Linked DNA regions of Homo sapiens: regions 1, 2 and 4 are each linked to region 3. The links are contacts of gene promoters, found by promoter capture Hi-C in blood cells and fetal thymus (Javierre and others, 2016). All regions are on one chromosome and are shown on one strand. The core of a region is centred on a gene start or on the middle of the fragment in contact, and the rest is flanking DNA. Distances in the headings are between cores, read along the strand shown.

Region 1 (3,236 bases), core at 528-3,027, 700 kb after region 3:
TGCAAGCTCGTTACTGCTCATCCTCCAGAGGCCCACATCAAGTCAGCCACGACTCAAGGAGACTCCAAAGATAAAAGCTGAAGCCAAAATATATGATTCTAAACACCCTCCTCGGCTACTGCAAAGCACTGTGAGCACTTTCTCAGGACGAGAGCCAAGAAGCCCAGCACCTATGGGTCACCACAGTTTCCGAGGTCCCAGATGAAAAAGATGCGCTCGCTACCACCGTGCGGCGGTCCTTTCTCTCGCAATAGTCTCAATGCTCCCGGGCCCTGCCTCCGGACGCCAGGACAGAGGTACCAAAATCTCACCTCCTGCAAAGAAACCTAATTGCTACGGGGGCCGGAAGAGGAAGAGGTGCGGCTCCGACAGCCAGAGGGGCGGGCATACGCAGCCTCCCTCGGCTCAGCCTGCTACTGGGGATGCAGAGCGTCCTGGTCGCCATGAAAACAGGCCACACCTCGGCGATCCCGGCCGGTGGTTTGCAAGTGCGCAGGCGCGCGCCCCCTTCCGCGCATGAGCAGTGCTGCTCCCAACCCGCCAGTCGCGGTCTCCGGCGCCAGCTACGCCGCTGCCGCTGTCACTATGGCCCATTACAAAGTGAGGGGGGCGCGGCGTGGCTGGGGGCATGCGGGCGGTAGCAAGCCGCTGGTCGGCTCTGGGTGGGAGTGGGGTCGCGCGCGCAGGTTTGGGCGGGAGGGCCCCGAGGTAGTGAGGCGGAGGCGGGGTTGCCGGACTCCCAGCGCCTTCTTCCTGCTCGGCTCCCGGGCTCTGGCCACTGACCCCCGGTGTCTCTTCAGGCCGCCGACTCGAAGCGTGAGCAGTTCCGGAGGTACTTGGAGAAGTCGGGGGTGCTGGACACGCTGACCAAGGGTGAGCCTGGGCTAGGAGAGGGTACCTCGTGCCCTCGTCGTGCTCCCCGGCGCTGCCCCGTTCCCCAGCGGGCCGTAGCGTGGGGAAGGAGGGGAAACAGATGGGGCCCGTCCGGGGTCCAGCGAGGTGGGCCTCGGGGTTCAGCAGGGACCTGGCTGCTGGACGCCGCCCGGGTGGGGTAGCCTAGCTCCGCTACCCTTCTCCGCACCGGGAGTGAAACTCTTGCAGCTGTTGCAAAGTCTCTTCAACTTCCGTTGCTTTGCCTCCAGCAGCCGCAGTGGACATGTTTGCCAAGGACCTTCAGATCCCAATTCCTCCCACCTTACGGTTTTTATGGAGTCCTCAGAATCTTGTTAAGAAAGTTTCCCTCCAACAAAGAGCAACTGGAAAAATGACCGAATTTCCAAGTGGGCTATGAAGTAGCTGAGTGAGCCTAATCCCCAAAGTAGGAGATTCATAGCGAATTTGGCTGTGGCTTTTCAGCCCCCATTCCTTAGTCTGTCTGTGTCAATTCTTATTTTGTGTATATTTCATAAAGTAGAATTACAGCTTAAAGAGCTCGAGGGCATATCAAGGTGGTTACATTGTTTTCACTTTTTAAAATGAAAGCTTACTGTTAACGCTGTATCTCTTCATTCGTGGCTTCAAGATCTAAGTTAAGTAGATGAGTAAAGTGTTGGAAACAGGAGGATTTCAAGGGGTAGGGTACAGTTTACTTTATTGGCTTAGCACTAATTTGAATGCCTGCTATGTGTCACTCAACTCACTGGGATATTCAAGGGTGTAGAATGGAATTGTTCGCAGGGATGAGGACTTGGGTCATATGAAACTAGGAAGTTTGGGAAGTGGGAAATAAATTGGTAACTGCCCTTTGGACAGAAGCAAAGTTTAGAGGAAAATTCTAGGAGCATAACTCCTGGGTCTTAGAAGAAAGAAGGCTAGTAATTTTGAATTGCTACCTATTTGGGGTTCAGATAATAGTTTACCTCTTTGCAAATAAACTTCAGCAAGTCTTAAGGGACTACTCTGTGAAAGTACTGTGCTATGTTGTCTCTGAAAGTGTCACAGATGCTTTGAATGTCATTCCGTCTAAAAACTCCTTACGTTCATTTCTTTCATTTAATAATTTTACTCAGGTGTCTGTTCTGCACACTGGAGATAAGCAGGGGAGGATAAAAGTCTCGGCTCTCATAAGCTTATATCCTAGTTGAGGGAGAGAAATACATAAATAAATATGTAGTGTCAGCTAGTGGTAAGTGGTACAGATAAAAATACAGCAAAGTTAGGGATAAAGAGTAACAGGTGAGGCCAGGCACGTGGCTCATGCCTGTAATCTCAGCACTTTGGGAGGCTGAGGTGGGTGGACTGCTAGAGGCCAGGAGCTCAAGACCAGCCTGGGCAACATGGCAAAACTCCCATCTCTTAAAAAAAAAAAAAAATTGCTGGGCATGGTGTGTGCCTGTAATCTAGCTACTGTGGAGGCTGAGGTGAGAGAATCACCTGAGCCCAGGAGGTCAAGGCTGCAGTGAGTTGTGATTGTGCCACTGGGCAACAGTGACACTCTGTCTCCAAAAAAAAAAAAAAAAAAAAGTGACAGGTGGGATGTGTGTGTCATTTTATATAGGGTGATGGGGGGAAGGCCTTTCTTAAGAAGTAATTTTTGACCAGAAACCTGAAAGAAACAGAGTTTCAGGAAGTCTAAGGAGGCCAGAGTGGTTGGATGGAGCAAGTGAAAGACTGAATGGTAAAAGGCAGAAAAATGACAGTTGTAGGCGGTAACTGACTACACAGAAGATGTTGCCCAGGCTGGAGTGCAGCGGCATGATCTCGGCTCACTGCAACCTCCACCTCCGGGTTCAAGCGATTGTGTTGCCTCAGCCTTCCAAGTAGCTGGGATTACAGGCATGTGCCACCATGCTTAGCTAATTTTTTGTATTTTTAGTAGAGAGGCGGTTTCACCACATGGGCCAGGCTGGTCTTGAACTCCTTACCTCAGGTGATCCGCTCACCTCAGCCCCGCAGAGTGCTGGGATTACAGGTGTGAGCCACCGCCCTCCACTAGAATTTAACCTCTCAATCTCCTTAGATTTCCAGGCTCCTAAATAACATCAGCCAACACAGTATTGATGTGATTTATTAAAAATTTGATTTTCAGCTCCAAACATAGGTGCTTTACACAATTCTATTTGTTTTTTTTTTTTTTTTTTTTTTTTTTTTTGAGACGGAGTCTCGCTCTGTCGCCCAGGCCGGACTGCGGACTGCAGTGGCGCAATCTCGGCTCACTGCAAGCTCCGCTTCCCGGGTTCACGCCATTCTCCTGCCTCAGCCTCCCGAGTAGCTGGGACTACAGGCGCCCGCCACCG
Region 2 (3,147 bases), core at 351-2,850, 580 kb after region 3:
GTAACAATAATGTCATAACAAGTGACAGTACAGTCCAGGAACTGACATGAATTCAAGTGGTTCCACACATAGTCAAAGTCCCTAACTTTCAGCCTAAATACTAGAACAATGTAGGAGATGCTTTAAGAGTGTTATGGGCCAGCTGGGTATGGTGGCTTATGCCTGTAATCCCAGCACTTTGGGAGGCTGAGGCAGGCAGATCACAAGGTCATGAAATCGAGACTATCTTGGCTAACATGGTGAAACACCGTCTCTACTAAAAATAAAAAAATTTAGCCAGGCGTGGTGGCACGTGCCTGTAGTCCCAGCTACTCAGGAAGCTGAGGCAGGAGAATCTCTTGAACCGGGGAGGTGGAGGTTGCACTGAGCCGAGATTGTGCCACTGCACTCCAGCCTGGGAAACACAATCAAGACTCTGCCTCAAAAAAAAAATAGAAAAACAAAACAAAAAAACAAGAGTGCTATGGGCCAGGCACTGTGGCTCATGCCTGTAATCCAGCACTTTGGAAGGCCAAGGTGGGAGGATCACTTGAGGCCAGCCTGGGCAACATAACGAGACCCAGTATTAAAAAAAAGAAAAAAAGCCTGTACATGGTGGCTCACGCCTGTAATCCCAGCACTTTGGGAGGCCTAGGCAGGTGGATCACCTGAGGTTCGAGACCAGCCTGACCAACATGGCGAAACCATCTCTACTAAAAATACAAAAATTAGCTGGGCATGGTGGTGCGCACCTGTAATCCCAGCTACTTGGGAGGCTGAGGCAGGAGAATTGCTTCAACCCAGGAGGTGGAGATTGCAGTGAGCCGAGATCACCCCATTGGACTCCAGCCTGGGCAACAGAGTAAGACACTGTCTCAAAAAACAAAACAAAACAGTGCTATGAAGTTTGTATTTTAGATTCCTGAATTTATTAAGTTTTCACCTCACTTTATTTTTTAAGAGAGTCTTACCCTGTCGCCCAGGCTGTAGTGCAATAGCACAATCTCAGTTCACTGCAACCTCTACCTCCCAGGTTCAAGCAATTCTCCTGCCTCAGCCTCCAGAGTAGTTTGGATTTCAGGAGCCCGCCACCACACCCACCTAATTTTTTGTATTTTTAGTAGAGACAGAGTTTCACAATGTTGGCCAGGCTGGTCTCAAACTCCTGACCTCAGCTGATCCGCCCGCCTCGGCCTCCCAAAGTGCTGGGAATACAGGCGTGAGCCACCGCTAGCCCCCTGTATTTTAAGATGTCTTATTCCTCAAGCCAGAGCCAATACAAGGATAAGAACTGCAAATACTTGAAACAAGAAAGGACAAGTATGAGGACAACGCTTAAGAGAACAGAAGGTCTTTGATAAACCTCTGCCTCCTGTATGGCAATGTTAACAAATGGAAAGATACAATTTTGAGGGTGGTAGGACTAAGAAGTCCAAGAATCTAAACACGGTATCCATGGGAGAAAAATAAGAAAGTTAGACATGATTTTCTTCTGTAGAAGGCCATATAAAGCACAAAATTTTTTTAAAAAGAAAAACTCAAATTTCTTTTTAACAGTGGATAATTTTAATCCTTCCCTCCATTACTTGAGGTTGTGCTGCCAGATTTTTTCCGGTCTAAGCCCATCCTCCAAACTCTACAGTGTTCCTACTGCTACAAACCAAAATTCAAACTCTTGAACATGGCAGTCAATACTTTCCAAGATGTGGCCTCAATTTATTTTCCTGGTTCCATCTGGATTCCACTATAATTTAGTTACATTACATTATTCTCTCCTTAAATTGTGGGTTTTTTGGACTTTGCTCTCATGGTTTCCCTGTGCTCGAAATGGGACTATTGCTCAAACTTGATCAAGACTCAGCTAGCCAGGCGCAGTGGCTCATGCAATCCCAGCACTTTGGGAGGCCGAGGCGGGCAGATCACCTGAGGTCAGGAGTTTGAGACCAGCTTGGCCAATACAGTGAAACCCTGTCTTGACAAAAAAAATACAAAAATTAGTAGGCCGGGTGTGGTGGCTCATGCCTGTAATCCCAGCACTTTGGGAGTCTGAGGCAGGCGGATCACCTGAGGTCAGGTGTTTGAGACCAGCCTGACCAGTATGATGAAACCCTATCTCCACTAAAAATACAAAAATTAGCTGAGAATGGTGGCATGCGCCTGTAATCCCAGCGTTCTGGGAGGCTAAGGCAGGAGAATCGCTTGAGTCTGGGAGGTGGAAGTTGCAGTGAGCCGAGATCATGCTACTGCACTCCAGCCTGGGCAACAAGAGCGAAACGTCATCTCAAAAAAAAAAAAAAAAAAAAAAAAAAAAAAAAAATTAGCCGAGCGTAGTGACACATGCCTGTAATCCCAGCCACTGGGGAGGCTGAGGCAGGAGAATCGCTTGAACATGGGAGACGGCGGTTGCAGTGAGCCAAGATCGTGCCACTACACTCCAGCCTGGGCAACAGAGTGACTCTGTCTCAAAAAACAACAAAAAAAGACTCAGCTAAAATGCTACCTTAATTCAGAAGTTATTCTCAGACTCTCAAGTCATAATCAGTTAATTGCTTTGCACATTACGTTTACAAATATTTCCTGCGGTCAGCAACCCCCTTCTTCCATGTCTGGAATTCACCTAGCACTCAATAAAGATTTAAGCAATAAAAGGCTTAGTTTTACAGGACCTTTCCACAAAAAGTACCATACAGATTGAGCATCCCTCATCCAAAATGCTTGAGACAGAAGTTTTGGATTGTGGAATAGTTGCATTATACTTACCAATTGAACATCCCTTACCCCAAATGAGAAAAACTCCAGTGAATAAGTATTTCCTTTGAGTGTCATATTGACACTCAATTTTTGGATCAGTTCAGACTTTGCAGCATTTCGGATTTCAGAAAAATTGCCCAGCTAATTTTTTAGCTTTTTTTTTTTTTTGAGATGGAGTTTCACTCTTGTCACCCAGGATGGAGTGCAATGGCCGGATCTCGGCTTACCGCAATCTCCGCCTCCCAGGTTCAAGCGATTCTCCTGCCTCAACCTCCCGAGTAGCTGGGATTACAGGCATGCACCACCATGCCCCACTAATTTTGTATTTTTAGTAGAGACAGGATTTCTCCATGTGTGTCAGGGTGGTCTTGAACTCCCGACCTCAGGTGATCCGCCCGCCTCCGCCTCCCAAAGTGC
Region 3 (3,123 bases), core at 216-2,715:
GCAATTTCTGTTTTTGGTTTTCACAGTGATGGCAAAGGTGGTTCCTGGCACTTATGGAAGAAGGGATGCTATATATCTTGTAATGCGTGTGGACAGTCCCATATAACATAGTCCTATAAAGTGATATGACTTTTTTTTTTTTGAGACGGAGTTTCGCTCTTGTTGCCCAGGCTAGAGTGCAATGGCATGATCTCAGCTCACCACAACCTCTGCCTGCCGGGTTCAAGCGATTCTTCTGCTTTAGCCGCCTGAGTAGCTGGGATTACAGGCATGCACCCCCATGTCTGGCTACTTTTTGTATTTTTAGGAGAGACGGGGGTTTCTTCATGTTGGTCATGCTGGTCTCGAACTCTCGACCTCAGTGATCCGCCCGCCTCGGCCTCCCAAAGTGCTGGGATTACAGGCGTGAGCCACCACGCCTGGCCTGTGATACGACTTTCAAATGACCTGCCAGACTCTCATGCAGATGAAAAGTCTTTTTATAATTATCCAAGCCTAGAAGAAACTTTAAACATAGGAACAGAAAGTATTTCTGTGCCCTTAAACACAAACTAAATGTCCGGGAATGCCACCAGCATGTCAATAGAGGGGATGCTTGTGTTTGGTTTCATTGAAGCTTTACCAAAATGTGCTCATCTTTTCAGAAAATCCCATCACCCATGGATACTGCTTGCATTTCTAGTTCCTGACGATTCTACCTCTAGGTCAACGGTATCCTGAAAACTTCTCAAATCTTTATTGTATTTGGACCCAGACATTTACCTATTGGACCACCTATTATTTTATTTTAACTTATTTTATGTCACCTTCATTTCACAATTTGGCATACCATTTAATTTTTTTTTTTTTGAGAGGGAGTCTCACTCTGTTGCCCAGGCTGGATGGAGTGCAGTGGCACGATCTTGGCTCACCGCGACCTCCGCCTCCCGGGTTCAAGCTATTCTCCTGCTCAGCCTCCCGAGTAGCTAGGACTACAGGCGCATGCCACCACGCCCGGCTAATGTTTTGTATTTTTAGTAGAGACGGGGTTTCACCGCGTTAGCCAGGATGGTCTCGATCTCCTGACCTCCATGATCCATCCGCCTCGGCCTCCCAAAGTGCTGGGATTACAGGCGTGAGCCACTGCACCCAGCCCCATACCATTTAATTTTAAACCTCATGCGTGTGTGCAGGTTAAATGGCTCCTAGGTTCCATTCCCGGGTGATGGGTGGGAGGGTGTTAAGATTTATTTGTTATAGAAAGGGGCCCTGGGGTCTCCCGCAGCCGCGAGCTGGGCGGTCCTCCCGGCGCCAGGGGTCGCTGTAGCGCCGCGCGGCCGCGCCGGGTCGCTCTCGCGTGGCCGCCCCGCCTCGGGCCCCCGGGCCGAGTGGGCGGGCACGACTGCGCCCAGGTCGCGAGGCGCCCTTCGACCAGCAGCGCCCGGGGCGGGCGGGTATAAATGGAGCGGTGGCTCCCTCGGCCGCCTCTCTCCGCCCCGGGTCGCTGCCGCCTCCGCCGCTTTCGGGCTTCGCAGCCTGAGGAAAAAAAGAGAAAAAGATAAAAAAAATCTGAAAACGCTTCAAAATCCTGAAAAAAAAAAAGGAAAAGAAAAAACGAATCCTCGGAGAACCCGCGGGGAAGTCACTTTCGTACGCTTCCGGCCTGCCCCGCGCCCGCCGCCGCAGCGCTTGGCGTCCGTCGGTCTCCGTCCGTCGGTCCGGGGGTGAGCCGCCCGCCCGGCCCGCCGTGCCCTCCCCCCGCTCGGGCCCCGAGCCCCGCGCCCCGCGCCTGCCCCGGCGCACCACGTGTCCGTGCTGCCCTTCGCCGCCCGCCCGGGGCTCGCCGAGTCGGCGCCCACAAAGATTTGGTTTCCCTCTGCCCCGGCGGTTGTAATCTTAAACCGCCGGAGCCCGAGGCCTATATTTATAGAGAAACGCGTGTCCCCGAGGCCGCCGTGGGCAGCGTCCGGTCGCCTCTTAAAGGATTTTTACCCTTCGGAAGGGGATTCCCCGTTTAATTTTTTTCCTACTTTGATTTTTTGAAATTTGGAGCTTCGCACCAGGACCGCGGAGAAGTGCAAAGTCGCGGGGAGGGCCGTATTGTGCGGAGAGCCTTTTGTCTGCGGTGCTGCGGCCGTGGGAGCCGGCCCCCGCCTCCCGTTTCCGTCCCGTCTCCAAGCCCGCCGACTCCAGCTCGTCCTCGCCGCGCCGGTGCCACCTGTGAGCCGCGGCGCGGGCCCGGGCTCCGAAGGCGCCCCTTTGTCCTGCGGCGGGCCCGATAAGAAGTCCTCCTGGCGGGGCTCGGGGTGGTGGGGGGCGGGGAGATGAACGCTGCGGCCAGCAGCTACCCCATGGCCTCCCTGTACGTGGGCGACCTGCATTCGGACGTCACCGAGGCCATGCTGTACGAAAAGTTCAGCCCCGCGGGGCCTGTGCTGTCCATCCGGGTCTGCCGCGATATGATCACCCGCCGCTCCCTGGGCTATGCCTACGTCAACTTCCAGCAGCCGGCCGACGGTGAGTAGAAGCTGTGCCCACACGTGCGTGGGAGCCCGGAGGACCCCGGGAGTCGTCTTCTGGCAGGGCCCTCCTGCCGAGGAGGGCGGCATCACGACAGCATGTTGCCACCGAAGCTGGGAGCAGGGTGCGGAGATTGAGAACGCGGACCTGGCATCAGATGACTCGAGTTTCAATCTTGTTTCTACCACTTGCTAACTGGGTGACCTTGGGCTACTTATTAGTGTTGCTGGTAGTGGGGTTGGAAACCAAGGAGACTGTAAAACAGGATTAGAGTGAAGCCACTGGCATTCCACTGCGTGTGGTCCTTGTCAGTGGGGCTGGGCTGTTAGAGATCCTTGCTTGTGCCCCTCACAGGCTGGCCAAAAAGGCGGGACGTTTGAAACACAATTCCCCGCGAAAGTTTTACATTGTAAAGCTCCTGCCCGCTCCGCCACCTTTACTAACCTTGACTACCTGATGTTGTGCTGATAAAGGATCAGTCAGGGCAGGCAGGAAGCAGGGGGAAGGTTTCTGTGCGTTAAACTTTCGCAGAGACTTAGGTTAGTGCCACAAAAGCTGCGTGTGCCAGGCCACCTCCTTGGTCTGTGTGTTTGCCACTGGAGTGGAGAAGTGCTTTACTCTGGA
Region 4 (3,553 bases), core at 626-3,125, 720 kb after region 3:
TTCAGTTTCTACTTTTCAAAAAAAATTTTTTTTTGTGGGATCAAATGTTTAAATGTTAAACCAGGGTGGAATTTTAAATTTAAATTCTGAAGTTTAATAGTCATAAAATTGCCTGTTTTCTTTTAACAGGTGGTGTTTCATAAGATGTCACCCAACGAGACCCTCTTTTTGGAAAGTACCAACAAGATTTATAAGGATGACATTTCCAATAGCTCCTTTGTGAATTTCCAGATATGGGATTTTCCTGGGCAAATGGACTTTTTTGACCCAACCTTTGACTATGAGATGATCTTCAGGGGAACAGGAGCATTGATATACGTCATTGACGCACAGGTAGTCAGTAATGTGTTTACTCCTCTTTCCTGGTGGGAAAAAGATGTAGAAACAAAGGAAAGTTGTTTATCTTCTTTGTCATGTGGTTGCAGCTTATCTCTTTGGCAGTAGATTCCCTAACAGTGTAAGAGATGCAGTTGCAGAGTGCTTTGGGAGCAGACATGCATTGTGCAGGTACAGAATATCAGATGATTAGGAGATATGGTTTACATCCTTGAGTCCTAGTTGATGAGCAGCTAACATTGGCTTTCCACTTTTATTGGTTGCCATATTTTATAATAATTTTATAATAATAGTGATGTTATTCCCTGAAAATATCCCATCCCATAACATAAAGAGGAATATGAGAACTGAGTCAGTAGATATTAGAGTGAATAGTTTACTTAATTGTCAAAATTGAGTTTAGCTCAACAAACATTTATGGAGGGCCTAGCATGTGGCAGTCAGTGAGATGAATGGGGCAAGTCCCTATCCTTTAAGAAGCTTACTTTTTATAAGCTTAAGCATTAGTTAAGAATGCTTTCTGAGTGATAGGCTCTACAGAGGGTGCCTTCACGTACAGGACCTAATTAATTTAAGCTTCACAATATTGTTAGGTAGGTATTGTAATTCTGATCTTACAGATGAGAAAACTGAGATCAGAGTTTAAGCAGCTTGCTTAAAGTGACACACTGAATAAATGGCAGAGCTGGGATTACTTAAAAAAATTATGTTGGGAAAAAATGTTCATATCATTTTTTTCTTTCTTAAATTAATATTAAAAATTACAAGCATTAACTTGGTAATTGAATTTTTTTATCTTGAGACAATTGAAGAGTTATTTAGTAGTATAGTATATTTGAATGTTTGAATATTGATGATAATTAGGATAGTATTTTTCTGTGGTTGGGGAAAGAGGTGGTTTGAGGCTTTAACTCATTACTTGGCTTTTGTAAGATTTATTTTAAAAAATATTTTGTTCTGACTTACAGGATGACTACATGGAGGCTTTAACAAGACTTCACATTACTGTTTCTAAAGCCTACAAAGTTAACCCAGACATGAATTTTGAGGTTTTTATTCACAAAGTTGATGGTCTGTCTGATGATCACAAAATAGAAACACAGAGGGACATTCATCAAAGGGCCAATGATGACCTTGCAGATGCTGGGCTAGAAAAACTCCATCTTAGGTAACAACATGTGTGTTTGATATGAAAGCCCTGAACAAGGTGTAAATGTATTCCCATCTCTGTCATTACAAACACCATAGCTTTCTGCTACCTGTGTGCCCTTTGCCACATCTTTTATGTTTTTGATCTTGTTGTTGAATTCCAGGCTGTCTGGGGAGCCTGATATTGAGAAATTACCCACTTTTTGCGTTTTCCTGGAGATTGAAGTCATGTGAAGTGTTTCCACTGGTGCTTTTCCAAATTCATCTCAAGAGACTGGAGTCAGGCTGTTTCTTCATGGCATAAATCTGCTTTGGGACTCCTTCCTCTTGGTTTCATTACTTTTCCCCGCCTTGCATCAGTGAAGTGAATCTGTCACATTTGTTGTGGAAGTCTTTAGCTTGAGTCTTAGACAGTATCTTTCTCAGTAGGAACAGCCTTATACAGAGAGTGCACTTTCAAATCTGGACTGACTCTTTTTATTTTTCATTTTTATTTTTCCTGCTGGCTCCCTTCCACCTCCCCCCTGGACTGACTGTAATATATCTTAGCTTTTAAAACACTTTATACTTTTATGAAACTCTATAAAGTTTGGCTTAGGTGGGTTTATCTTATAAATGTGCATAAGGCTGCTATTAAATTTAGAGGACTATTGGTTTGTAACTACTGTTAAGAAATTATTATTAAATAATACCTACTTGATAGGATTGATTTGTGTATTTGCATTCTAAAAGTGTATGAGGAATATTTTTGTACATCTTATTTTATTTGGTGATATAGGTAGAAATGAGTATTAAAAAGTACCCAAGAAAATATTCTCTTGACGATAGAAGTAGCTTAAAGAGGGAGAAGGGGAGAGAGACAGCAAGTTATTTCTCTGTCCCCGTTCTATTGTTGTGACTTCTTTATGGGCTCAAGCTAACTGCTATCCCTCCCCCTAAAATTCTCTGGGTCTCAGGCTCCAAGATCTTTCAGTTATTCTTCTAGGAAACCATGTCGAAAAGTCTCATTGACCTCTAGTTTGCCTGGATTAAATTTCTAAATAATTTGAAAATAATTCATGTTAAAAAAATAAAAATTCAGCAATGTTTGTAGGAGAAAATGTAAGTGGCTCTCCACAAAAATTCAGTCTTATTTTTTTGGGAATCCACTGCTAATAGTTTTTTACCTGGATTTTGAGCCGTTCTTGTCCTGTGTTCCCCAGTGCTCCATGGGGATCCTTCTGATTCTCTTTACTCCGTGTCTGTGTTCCTTTCCAGGGCATCCCACCCTAGTGGTACATGCCATCCCTTTCCTCAGTACCATGTAGGGTCCTAGACCTTGTTAACTTCAGTAGAATGTTGCATCAAGCTTTTATTTAGGCCAGGCATAGTGGCTTATGCCTATAATCCCAGCACTTTGGGAGGCCGAGGCAGGCAGATCACTTGAGGCCAGGAGTTTGAGACCAGCCTGGCCAACATGGCGAAACTCCGTCTCTACTAAAAATACAAAAAATTAGCCGGGCATTGTGGTGTGTGCCTGTAGTCCCAGCTACTTGGGAGGCTGAGAGAGGAGAATCGCTTGAACCCAGGAGGTGGAGGTTGCAGTGAGCCAAGATCGTGCCACTGGACTCCAGCCTGGGTGACAGAGCAAGACTCCGTCTCAAAAAAAAAAAAAAAAAAAAGACTTTTATTTAGTACTAGCAGTCCTATGGATGAAGCTCCTTTTCATTTCCAGTTTCTAGAAACTCAGTTTACTAAAATGCCCTGTGACTTGCAGGTTCTCCCTGTCCCCATTTACCTCAAGCCTCAAAGGTGCGGGACATTCTTTCTTTGCTCACCTTTTGGCCTACAGGAAACACTAAAATATTCCTTTCTCCCTAGTATCTATGGGGTCATCTTGGCCTTACCTGTTCCAGTGCTCTTACATCTAGATTAGACCCCTGTCTTGCTAGATTAGGTTCTTAGGTCAGCTCCTTGAAAGTATTTTTTTTTTTTTTTTTGAGATGGAGTTTCACTCTTGTTGCCCAGGCTGGAGTGCAATGATGCCATCTCGGCTCACCGCAACCTCTGCCTCCCTGGTTCAAGCGAT

The links. The method cuts DNA at HindIII sites, captures the fragments that hold promoters and counts their contacts. A CHiCAGO score of 5 or more calls a contact.
Region 1: a contact is called between a fragment that was not itself captured here and the fragment with the promoter of PABPC4 in region 3, in 1 of 17 cell types (fetal thymus). The highest score is 7.9, in fetal thymus.
Region 2: a fragment that was not itself captured here is called in contact with the fragment with the promoter of PABPC4 in region 3 in 1 of 17 cell types (fetal thymus); the score reaches 5.2 in fetal thymus.
Region 4: a contact is called between a fragment that was not itself captured here and the fragment with the promoter of PABPC4 in region 3, in 1 of 17 cell types (fetal thymus). The highest score is 5.4, in fetal thymus.

Annotation. Positions count from the first base shown.
Region 1 is chr1:38,870,655-38,873,890 of GRCh38, reverse strand. It overlaps MYCBP (MYC binding protein), which reads left to right and starts at 543. Exons shown (of 5, transcript NM_012333.5): 1 at 543-600; 2 at 801-873. The coding sequence starts at 586. All of the region lies in intron 1 of RRAGC-DT (RRAGC divergent transcript), which reads right to left. All of the region lies in intron 1 of GJA9-MYCBP (GJA9-MYCBP readthrough), which reads left to right. RefSeq lists an enhancer at 987-1,509. The HindIII fragment of the contact is 586 bases long and covers 1,485-2,070 here.
Region 2 is chr1:38,993,822-38,996,968 of GRCh38, reverse strand. All of the region lies in intron 1 of AKIRIN1 (akirin 1), which reads right to left. Among named protein-coding and RNA genes, the nearest start is that of AKIRIN1, 4.1 kb to the right of the region's middle. The HindIII fragment of the contact is 5,767 bases long and covers 1-3,147 here.
Region 3 is chr1:39,575,132-39,578,254 of GRCh38, reverse strand. It overlaps PABPC4 (poly(A) binding protein cytoplasmic 4), which reads left to right and starts at 1,465. Exons shown (of 16, transcript NM_001135653.2): 1 at 1,465-2,496. The coding sequence starts at 2,304. RefSeq lists a silencer at 1,211-1,520 and enhancers at 2,021-2,090, 2,591-2,640, 2,661-2,780. The HindIII fragment of the contact is 4,726 bases long and covers 619-3,123 here.
Region 4 is chr1:38,853,659-38,857,211 of GRCh38, reverse strand. RRAGC (Ras related GTP binding C) reads left to right here. Exons shown (of 7, transcript NM_022157.4): 2 at 130-333; 3 at 1,305-1,504. Among named protein-coding and RNA genes, the nearest start is that of RRAGC, 4.3 kb to the left of the region's middle. The HindIII fragment of the contact is 1,921 bases long and covers 915-2,835 here.